2 separate regions of the Homo sapiens genome follow, and region 1 is linked to region 2. The links are contacts of gene promoters, found by promoter capture Hi-C in human tissues and cell types (Jung and others, 2019). All regions are on one chromosome and are shown on one strand. Each heading gives the region's core, a stretch centred on a gene start or on the middle of the fragment in contact. The rest is flanking DNA. Distances are from core to core; before and after follow the strand shown.

Region 1 (4,980 bases), core at 1-2,500, 230 kb after region 2:
TCAGGTCCTCAGGCTGCAGCCCTGAGGATTCTGAGGCTCGGGGTCTGCTGGCCCTGCTGGGTGGACCGCCCCACTCTTTGTCCCTTGCCCTCTGCCCCCAGCCCACCATGCTGGCTGCTCACTTGGTCCTGAAGTCATCGGCTGCCAGCCTGGCATTGTCAATCTGCAAAATGGGCTGCGCATTCTCAATGGTGGCCGCAATGATCTGGAGTGGGGATGGAGGACAGGAGCCCTGGTCAGCCAAGGACCTTACTACTTGAGCATGAAAGGCAGAAAGGGGCAAAAGGAACCGCCCCAAATCTGGAAGTCTTCTGGCTGGCAGGGCTGGCATGCCTTCTCCACCAGCTCAGGCTACGTAGGGATGCACTCCATCCCGATCACCCCCTTCCTGGGCCCAAGGCAGGGAAGCTGAACTTGCAGCTGAACCCTTGAAGGAAATAAGAGATTTAGGGTAACAGCCCCAGTCCGGGCACAGAGATACTGAAAAGGGACCCTCTGCTACCACTTCCCTGGGTGATCCTGGCCACTCCCCAAAGGTGCCCAGTCTCCCTGTTTGTAAAGTGTAATTGCTAAAAAGAGGTATCCCAAGGGCCACTGTAGCCCCAGCCTCTCTCAGTGCTCCATACACCAAAGTCACCCACCTTGTTCCTCAGGTCCTCGATGGTCTTGAAGTAGGGACTGTAGTCTTTGATCTCACTGGGCCGCTGCCTCTGGTACCAGTCACGGATCTTCACTTCCAGGTCGGCGTTGGCCTCCTCCAGAGCACGCACCTTGTCCAGGTAGGAGGCCAGGCGGTCATTGAGGTTCTGCATGGTCACCTTCTCACTGCCCACCAGAAGCCCATCACCACCAGCAAAACCACCACCAAAGCCAGCACCCAAGCCACCACCGAAGCCAGCACCAAGGCCACCACCATATCCTCCCCCGAAGCCACTACCAAAGCTGCTGCTGCTGCTGAAGCCACCGCCATAGCCGCCCCCCAGCCCGCAGGCTCCCCCAGAGGAGAAGCGAGAGGAGACAGACAGGCCGCCCCCGTAGGTGCTGGGGGCACGGCAGGACCCTCCGGCCAGGACGGAGGAGATGCGGCTGGAGCCGCCCCCGATGCCGCCTCCGATGCCGCAGGAGCCCTTCATGGAGCTGGAGGAGGTGAACTGGCGGCTGCAGGTGGTCATGGTGCCAAGGAGGGAGGTGAGCGAGTGAGCAGTTGGCTGAAAGAAGGAAAGGTGCTCAGGAAGGCTGAGAGCGTGCTGTGGCTGCCTCCAACCCCAGAGACCTTTATATGCAGCTGGGGAAGGCGGGGCCCTCCTAACTGCTGACTCCAGGTTCCCCTCTGGATTTCATCACTCCCGGTCCCGTCCAACTCCTCACTCTGGATTATTCAGCCCAGGATCAACTCTGCTGTGTGCCGGCTCAGAGTTCCCACCCAGCTTTGGGGGTGTGGGGCCGAGAGAAAAACACAGAAATGCGAGTTCGGTGGTGACTCAGGCTAGGCGGTGGGGAATCAGGCTCCCTTTCCTGGAGCCCTCGGGGCCAGTCGGGCCTTGGCACAGGTGGCTTTGTGGCAACTGCGTCCCCAGGCAGTGAGTCAGCCCTTCAGAAGAACTCCCTGCCCCACAGTGACAGCCTTGGCTGAAAGAGAGCTCAGTGATGCCATCCTGGGCTGTCTTGGGGAGCAGTTGTGGGGATCCCACATGTCCCACTCTGGGCAGGGGCAGAGTTCCTGTCTTCACTCTGCTTGCTGTGTGGCCTGAGGCTCCCCACCTCCCACCTCTGGGCCTGTTTCCCCTCAGTGACCAGGCTGGACTGGGTGACTGCAGAGTCCCTTCTGTTCTAAAAATCCTATAACTCTCTTTCCCCTCTTGGATCTAATTCCAGTTCCAGAGGCTGCCTTGAGCCCCCGGGATCTCCAGAAGTGTGTGCACCATACAAACAGCACTGGCCATGGAGCTAGACAGGCGGCACTGAGTCCCTGCTCTGCCCTTACCAACTGTACAGCACAGGCTGGTCCTATAGCCCCTTGGTCCTCAGTTTTCTCATCTGTAAAAGGGGATGACACACCACTAGCCACAAAGAAACATGCGCGAAGGACCCCACCGGCCCTTCCCCGAGGGCCAGCCCTGCCCCTCAGCCTCCCCATCCTGCCCCTCCAGCCACCTGCTCCTCACACTCACCTCTACACACTGGCACCATCCCGCACCCCTAAGCAGGGCCCTGCGCCCCCCACACTCCCAGCTGAAGAACACCACAGCCCCACACCTAGCTCTGCCACTCCTCTACCGCCCTCTCCTAATCACAGGCACCCCACCTGCAGGCTGGTGGGAGGGAGCCCCATCCTGCCACTACAGCCAGGTATGACCCCTGACCCCACCTGGGCCTCAGAGTCCCCCCCTACCCTGTAGAAACAGGACTAGCCGGGGATCCGTTCCCAGCAGTTCTCTCTCCTGTGTCCACAGATCCCAGGCTAGGCCTGGCAGCTCCATTCATCCAGCTGAGCTGGGGGAGAGCACTGGTTATGGGCCCACTCAGGCATGCATGGAGAGCCCAGTGTGTGCCATACAGTTCTGTGAGCGTAGAGATTCACTCAAAGTCACTCTGCTTTAAGCTGCAGAGCTGCAACTAGAACCCAGAACTCTGGCCCTCTCCAGGCTCCCACCATGCCTGCAGGCGGGGCCAGTATACCCAACTCTCACCCACCTCCCCACGATCACTGGCAGGAGGTCTGCCCATGGTGGGCATGGCCTTGGCCTGAGAGCCTGGTCCAGCACCGAGGACTGGAGGGAGGATGGAGGGGTCTGGGCACCAAGACGGGGCCTCCTCAGGGTGCTGTGGGGCATCCCTCGGTGCTGGCCACTGGCCTTGCTCTGCAGTGTCTCTGTTGAGGTGAGGAGCCCAGAGACAGCCTGCTTCTGCCTGAGCTCCACTGGGGCAGGCAATTCCTTGTCTCAGCAGAACCAGGGTTTTGTCACTGCTACATCTCCCCTGGTCATTCATCCCAGAGGTAAGAGCAGAACGGATGCACATCCCTTCAGAGTCAAACCTGGGAGAGGGAACCTGACACTCCTCACCCCTACCCCAAAAAGGGGCAAAGGGGACCCCGGAATCTTGGACAAAAACCTCAGTGTTCAGGTGTCAGGTTGGGCCTGGAGTTCTGGTCCATCCACAGACCCATCACCCTCAGAACTGAAAATGGTCTTCAAGGTCACCAAAGGCTATTAATACCCCAACTGGAGAGAGCGAAAGCCTTATCCAGGTTAAGCAGCACAAAAGTGAGAGAGCAGAGACTCGAGCCAGCTCTAACTCCCAAGCCAGGATTCACACCGACTCTCGTAGTAGAGTCTCTGAGAACTCTTCACTCTCTGCCCCCATCGTGTGTGCATGCACACACACCCCTTTCTCATTGGCTCACTGCCCCCCACCAAGTTCCCCATTCCAGGAGGTGTCAGGGCGGGATTATACACAAGCCCAGCACTGCAGACCTGGGGATCTGCATGGGCTGAGAAGCTGCAGGAAGTTGCTGACCAACGCGCCAAACTGCTCAGCCAACTCCATAGATCACGCACCTGCTGTGTGTACAGCTCTCGGGGGCTGGGGGTGAAGAGGGAGATGATGACATAGTCTCTGACCTTAGAAGAACTTATCATTTGACCCTGGAGGGAAAACTAATGCTGGAAAATACAGAACCTGGCTAGAAACCCTGGGGTGCTGGGCTTGCCTGCCATGCCCACACCACAGGAGGCAGCTGGGGTAGGCATTGCCCCGCTGAGCCTCAGCAGTAGAGGAGGGGGCTGCCCTCCTGGCCTTGATCCCTGAAAGGGTCCTAGCAGAGAGAGGCACCAGCAGGGCCTCAGAGGATCTGAGTTGACAGAGGAGGAGGAGGAGGCGTTTCCTGTGCACCAGTGATGCACACCTGCCCCAAGGTGGCCAAGAGCCAGGACCACTAAGCCTGGTGAGCACAGAGAAGCCCAGTGGGCATCCTCCAGGCAGAGGATTCCTCCCCACACCCTGCCTCCTTCCTCCCTCCTTCGTACTGCCCATGTCAAGCATGAGGCATGAGATCATGGCATACCTGAGGCAGCCGGGAAACACCATTGGCCAATGCCACGCCTTGACTTGCAGTGATTCTCCAACCAGACAGATCGTCAGAGTCCCCATGAAGATTTGCAGCCCTGCTCCAACTCCCGCATCAGCACCGCTCAGGACAAGCCTGCTGGTGGGGCTGTTTTACAAGCTCCCCAGCCAACTCAGACTGGGAAGGCAGGAGGCAGCTTGGGGGCTAAGGAGGGGGGCAGAGAAGCTGAGGGGAGAGAGGGGGCTGCTGCAGGGCCCCCAGCCTCGGGTGGACAAGCCAGAGCCACAGGCTTCAGGGCAGGAGGAAGGAAAAGTAGAGCCCCACTGAGCCAGGACAGAGCAGCCTAGAATCGGGGCAAGCAGGGGCGAAATCTTGGGCAGGACATTCAGCCTCTCTGAGCCTCAGTTTCCTTCTCTGGGAAATGGGAATAACAGCCTTGCCTCACAGGCATATTAGGGGATTCGAGGCCAAATAAATAAAGCACCTGGAAAAGGCTGGTGGCTAGCGTTATGTTTATGAGCAGGTGTTTATAAAGTGCCTACTATGTGCCTGGCACTGTGCTGGGCACTCAGACTCAAAGAACAAGACAGAGAAGCCCTGGAGACACAGTCTTCTGGGGGAGAAGGTGGTAAAGACAATCCCAATACACTAATGTCAGGCCACGATGGGGTACTGGGGCCCTGCAGAGAAACAGAGAGAGCAGGGTCCCTGGGGGAGAACAAATGTCCAGGCCCAGGCTCTGCCCCTGTGACGGCTCCCGGGATCTGGGGAAATCTGTGAGTGCCAGGCCCACCTCTGGGGCTCCTATCCCCTCCTGCATGTTTGATGCCCCCCTTCTGAAGGTGGGGCTGTCATAGCCCTTCACAATCCAACCACAGATCTGCAGCTTCTGCCTTGATGATGGGGTGAAA
Region 2 (5,166 bases), core at 1,316-3,815:
AAAAGGGAAACAATGAACCTACGGCAATGGATCTGCCATTTTCCTGCTCCAGGGAAATGAGCACAATACTGCCCAAAAAGCACTAAAAGGAATATTCTGATCATTCCCAAAGAGTGACACACACATTTTATAGCAATAAACTCCAACAGGGATCACATCAATTGCTGTCCCATGGAAGATGTGCCATCTTCCTGCTCTGGGAAAATGAGCTTGATGCTGCCCAGAAAGCACTAAAAGGGGCCGGGCACAGTGGCTCAAGCCTGTAATCCCAGCACTTTGGGAGGCAGAGGCAGGTGGATCACGAAGTCAGGAGATCGAAACCATCCTAGCCAACATGGTGAAACCCCATCTCTACTAACAATACAAAAATTAGCTGGGCGTGGTGGCATGTGCCTGTAATCCCAGCTACTCAGGAGGCTGAGGCAAGTGAATCACTTGAACCAGGGAGTCGGATGTTACAGTGAGCCTAGATCACGCCACTGCACTCCAGCCTGGTGACAGAGCATGACTCCGTCAAAAAAAAAAAAGCACTAAAAGGAAGATTCTGATCATTCCCAAAGAGTGACACACACATTTTATAGCAATAAACTCCAACAGGGATCACGTCAATTGTTGTCCCATAGAAACGGAAACAACCTCACACCTTCTACAAGACTAAGTCTAAACTCCTTGGCATATGCAAGTCCTTCCTCGCTTCCCATCACATCTTCACTTTCATCCCTTGGAGGTACTGCATGCCCAGCCATACCCAGATACACCCTGCCCTGCCACTTCTGTGTCTTTGTTCAACCTCTTCCCTCAGACTGAAACACCCAAGTACTGGAATCCTCCTCTTTGCATCTGAGAAGAGTTCCCTATCTCCTCTTGGGCAGCCTGGATTATTTCTAGAGCATACTGCTTGTACATCTCATATGGTACTTGTTTCACTCTGTCTTGTTTATATCACTGTGTTTATATGACTGTCTTTCTATACTAGACTGTGAGCTCTTTTAAGAAAAGGGCCATGTCTTATTTCTTTTTTGTCCCTCCATCTCCACCACCAAATTCAGGACCTAGCAGTGATCAGCAGAGAGCAGGGCTCAATGAATGATGTCCCTCCTCAGTAATTCCAACACCTGCCTAACCCTCACCCAGCCGCTGAAGAATGAGCAGCTCACTCCACTCCTTGATATGGATGTAGCACCGTCACTCTCTGAGAACATCTTGAGTTCCTCAGAGAAGGGTCCCAGACCAGGGATCCAGACAGTAATCCTCTCCTGATTCCCAGTGCTAGTAGCTTAGTTCTGAGGCCTGCTTTTGTGAATTTGTTTCATACCTCCTCATGGTTCTTCTTCAAGCAGATCAGCTCCTCCCTCAGGGACTCCACCTGGGACTCCAGGTCAGACTTGCAGAGGGTCAGCTCATCCAGGATCCTGCGTATGCTGTTGATGTCCGACTCCACCAACAGCCTCAGGGACTGCTCCGTCTGGTACCTGCACGTGTCGGAGTGGGAGGATAAGTCAGGAAAGAAAACCACCTTCCCCTCTCATGTGTTGTTTGGGTAGAATTGGCCTGAATCTTCTTGAACTTACAGTTTTCTGCCTCTTCTCTTCCATATGCTTCAGTCAAGCTGTCCATGGATAGGCTGAAGAGGTTCCCTGACTCACCTAACACCACGAGGAGCCCACAGGCACACATGAGATGAAGTCTCTCACTGTGTTCTCGGTTTTGTTAGCTAATATACCACCAAATCAATTCCCAAAGAACAATTCATTTCAATCTCTGAATTTTGTGGTTTAAGAAACACTTCCAAAAAAAACCAGTATAGACCAAAGAGCAGGCAGCACATGAGTCTAGTTCCCTATTTGAAACTAATTTTACATAACCAGCCCTAGGAGGAGAAATAGAGAGAAATGGCTTTCTCCTCTCTTCCAGGCAATAGTAGGTCCCTAGGGCCATGAAAGAACCATAGGGACCTTGAAGTTCAACATACTTGCTTCTGAAGTCGTCAGAGGCCAGCTTGGCATTGTCAATGTTCACCACCAGCCTGGCATTCTCAGCCTTGGCACACAGAATCTGAAAAGAAATTTCTCTCATGAGGTACACTTGAACTTGAAAATGTCTTACTGTTCAAAGAGAGCCAGCTGCTGCTGGCCCCCCATATGGCCAACCCCCTCACCTTCTGCTGGAGCTCCTCAATGGTCTTGAAGTAGGACTGGTAGCTGGGGCACAGCAAGGGCTCCTGCTGCTGGGACCGCTCCTGGATGAGTTTCTCCAGCTCCGCGTTGTCCCGCTCCAGCTGACGCACCTTCTCCAGGTAGCTGGCCAGGCGGTCGTTCAGGAACTGCATAGTCTCCTTCTCGCTGCCATTGAAGGAGCCCTCACAGAACCAGTTGCAGTTGCTCACATTGGCGGGGATGTTGCAGGCCCCAGGCAGGGTGTAGCCGTGGCAGCTGGGGGGCACGCAGGGCCGGGAGGAGCAGCTGGTGCGGCAGCCCAGGCTGGGCAGGCAACAACTGTAAGACATGGTGCTGGAACAGGTAATGGAAAAGCAGGTAAGCTGCTGGAGGTGGATGTGGGCAGGTTTGAGTCTCTCCTTCCTCTGCAGTCCTTTTATACCATTAATTGTGGGTGGGGGCTTGGCATACAGCATAGTTTCCTTTCCTAATGCTTCAGCTAATTTTTCTCCAAAATATGCTAGTTAGATGCTTCTAAAGAGTCCCCCCTCAACCCATAAAATTATTCCATTCAGCTTATGTCACACCAGGCTCTTCCTGGGTGCTAGTGGTTGGTGAAATCAGAGTTTCATCAGATGGCTTCATAGGAGATAGAATCATCACAGCCCCAAAAGGCTGTCTGCATTACTCAGAGGGGAGGACAGCCAGGGACATGGGGTGGAGTTGTTTGGGAATCAGGGATTCCTCACCCAGGAGTTTCCGCCACTGTTCTTTCTCCCCAGAGAGAGAGCTCTGAGAGAGAGCTTTGAGAGTTACTCTTCCAAGTAGCTCTTTCCTCCCACATTCATCCATGTTTCAGCATTCAATTTGTTTTTATAGCAGAAACTCAACCTGTATTCGCCGAAATGATCCTGAGCCTTACTATTCGTTGGGGTTTAGGGAACTTGCCAACACATGGAGCAACTGAAAACAATGGCATGTTCATGGTTGAGAAATGAGAAAGTAAAATGGAAACCAATGGAATGGATGGGAGTATACCTAAAAGAGGGCATCTGCAAATGGCAGCCCACACGTCAAGTTTACCCTGCTGAATTTTTGTAAATAAAGTTTTTGTTTGTTTGTTTTCTGTTTTTTTTTTTTTGAGACAGAGTCTCACTCTGTCGCCCAGGCTGGAGTGCAGTGGCACGATCTCGGCTCACTGCAACCTCCACCTCCCGGGTTCAAGCAATTATCTGCCTCAGCCCCCCGAGTAGCTGGGATTACAGGTGCCCGCCACCACACCCGGCTAATTTTTGTGTTTTTAGCAGAAATGGGGTTTCACCATGTTGGCCAGGCTGCTCTTGAACTCCTGAACTCGTGATCCGCCCGCCTCGGCCTCCCAAAGTGCTGGGATTACAGGCGTGAGCCAATGCGTCCGGCAGTAAATAAAGTTTTAATGGAACACAGCCATGCCCATTTGTTTAGCTATTGTATATGGCTGCTTTTGTGCTACAGTGGCAGAGTTGTGTAGTTGTGACAGAGACTATAGTGTCCACAAAGCCCTAAAATTAAAAAATTTGCCAACTTGTACTAAAGCAACAGCCTCTCTAAAGATGAGCAAGAGTAGAAATATCTAGAAGAAAAAATATGCTGGAAACAGTCTGGAGCAGTGAGAGTTCAGATGGCAGCACTGAAGCATGAATATGAAGCATAATACTGCAGACTCACCAAGAAACGAAAATTGGAGCAAGGGTGCTCAGAGGTATCTTTGTATCCATGGTGGCTTTTTCTCAAATTCTCTGGAAATTTCTATCATCTTATTTCTAGACTTGTTCCTCTTTCTAGAGTATTAACTCTCCTAGAGGTATGACTATGCCAGCCTGAGATGCTTCCAGGACAAGCCACAGTGCCCATGAGAATGCAGATTTACTCTGTTGTCCCTACAAGTAGACACTGTCTCTGATAAGTGTGCTTCTATCACCTCTGGGATCCAGTTACCCTTTGACTCTTGCATAACCTAGGGAGCCTCTCTATTGCCCAATAATCACTCTTCACAGAATAGCCTTCCCTACCTCACTTCTTTTCCCTGTCACTCTACCTTGCCTTTGTTCCGCAGGGAAACAAAGTCATGTTTCAGAAAGAAGTCCCAAAAGATTATTTGTGGAACACAATACAAATCATTTAAAGAAGGCTGCATCTGAATTTCAAAAGCAGCATGAGAGGAGCAGAAAAGCACATCTTCGATTTTATTTATTTGAGTGTTTCCTCTTTTTTTCTTAGTCTATCTAGAGGTTTGTAAATTTTCTGTGTCTTTCAAAAAAACTCTGTTTCATTGATTTTTTGCTATTGTTTTTCTAGTCTCTATTTTTATTTATTTCTGCTCTAAGTTTTATCGTAAGTATCATAATAAAATTTAGAGCAAAAAGTGTTATTATATCCTTCCTGCTGCTAACTTTGAGCTTAGTTTGTTCTTTATCTTTTTTAATTTTTTAATTTTTGTAGGTACATGGTAGGCGTGTGTGTATGTTTAGATATAGGTTTATGTATATACATATATAAAACTTTCCTCTTAGTACTGCTTTTGCTGCATCCCATAAATTTTGATACGTTGTGTTCTCATTTTCATTTGTCTCAAGATATTTTCTAATTTCCTTTTTGATTTCTTCTTTGACCCATTGATTATTTAAATGTTTTTTAATTTCTACATATTTGTGTATTTTTCAGTTTTTTTCTTATTTCCGTTCTAGTTTTCTAGTTTCATTCCATTGTGGTAGGAAAAGATACTTAGTATGATTTCAATCCTCTTAAATTCGTTAAGACTTGTTTTGTGACCCAACATATGATCTATCCTGGACAATGTTCCGCATGCACTGGAGAATATGCATTCTGCTACCATTGGATAGAACGTGTTATTTGTTAGGTCCATTTGTTCTATAGTATTGCTCAAATCTGTTGTTTCCTTGTTGATTTTCTATCTGAATGTTCTATTCATTATCAAAAGTGAGTTACTGAATTCTTCTATTATTGCATT

The links. Contacts are between HindIII fragments. The study calls those that stand out against the background at their distance.
Region 1: a contact is called between the fragment with the promoter of KRT16 here and the fragment with the promoter of KRT34 in region 2, in 3 of the 25 tissues and cell types used here (heart left ventricle, mesendoderm cells and thymus).

What each region holds. Positions count from the first base shown.
Region 1 is chr17:41,611,517-41,616,496 of GRCh38, forward strand. KRT16 (keratin 16) reads right to left here and starts at 1,251. Exons shown (of 8, transcript NM_005557.4): 1 at 642-1,251; 2 at 123-205. The coding sequence starts at 1,172. RefSeq lists an enhancer at 2,282-2,830. The HindIII fragment of the contact is 12,932 bases long and covers 1-4,980 here.
Region 2 is chr17:41,379,741-41,384,906 of GRCh38, forward strand. It overlaps KRT34 (keratin 34), which reads right to left and starts at 2,566. Exons shown (of 7, transcript NM_001386014.1): 1 at 2,159-2,566; 2 at 1,973-2,055; 3 at 1,316-1,472. The coding sequence starts at 2,506. RefSeq lists an enhancer at 1,559-2,758. The HindIII fragment of the contact is 11,267 bases long and covers 1-5,166 here.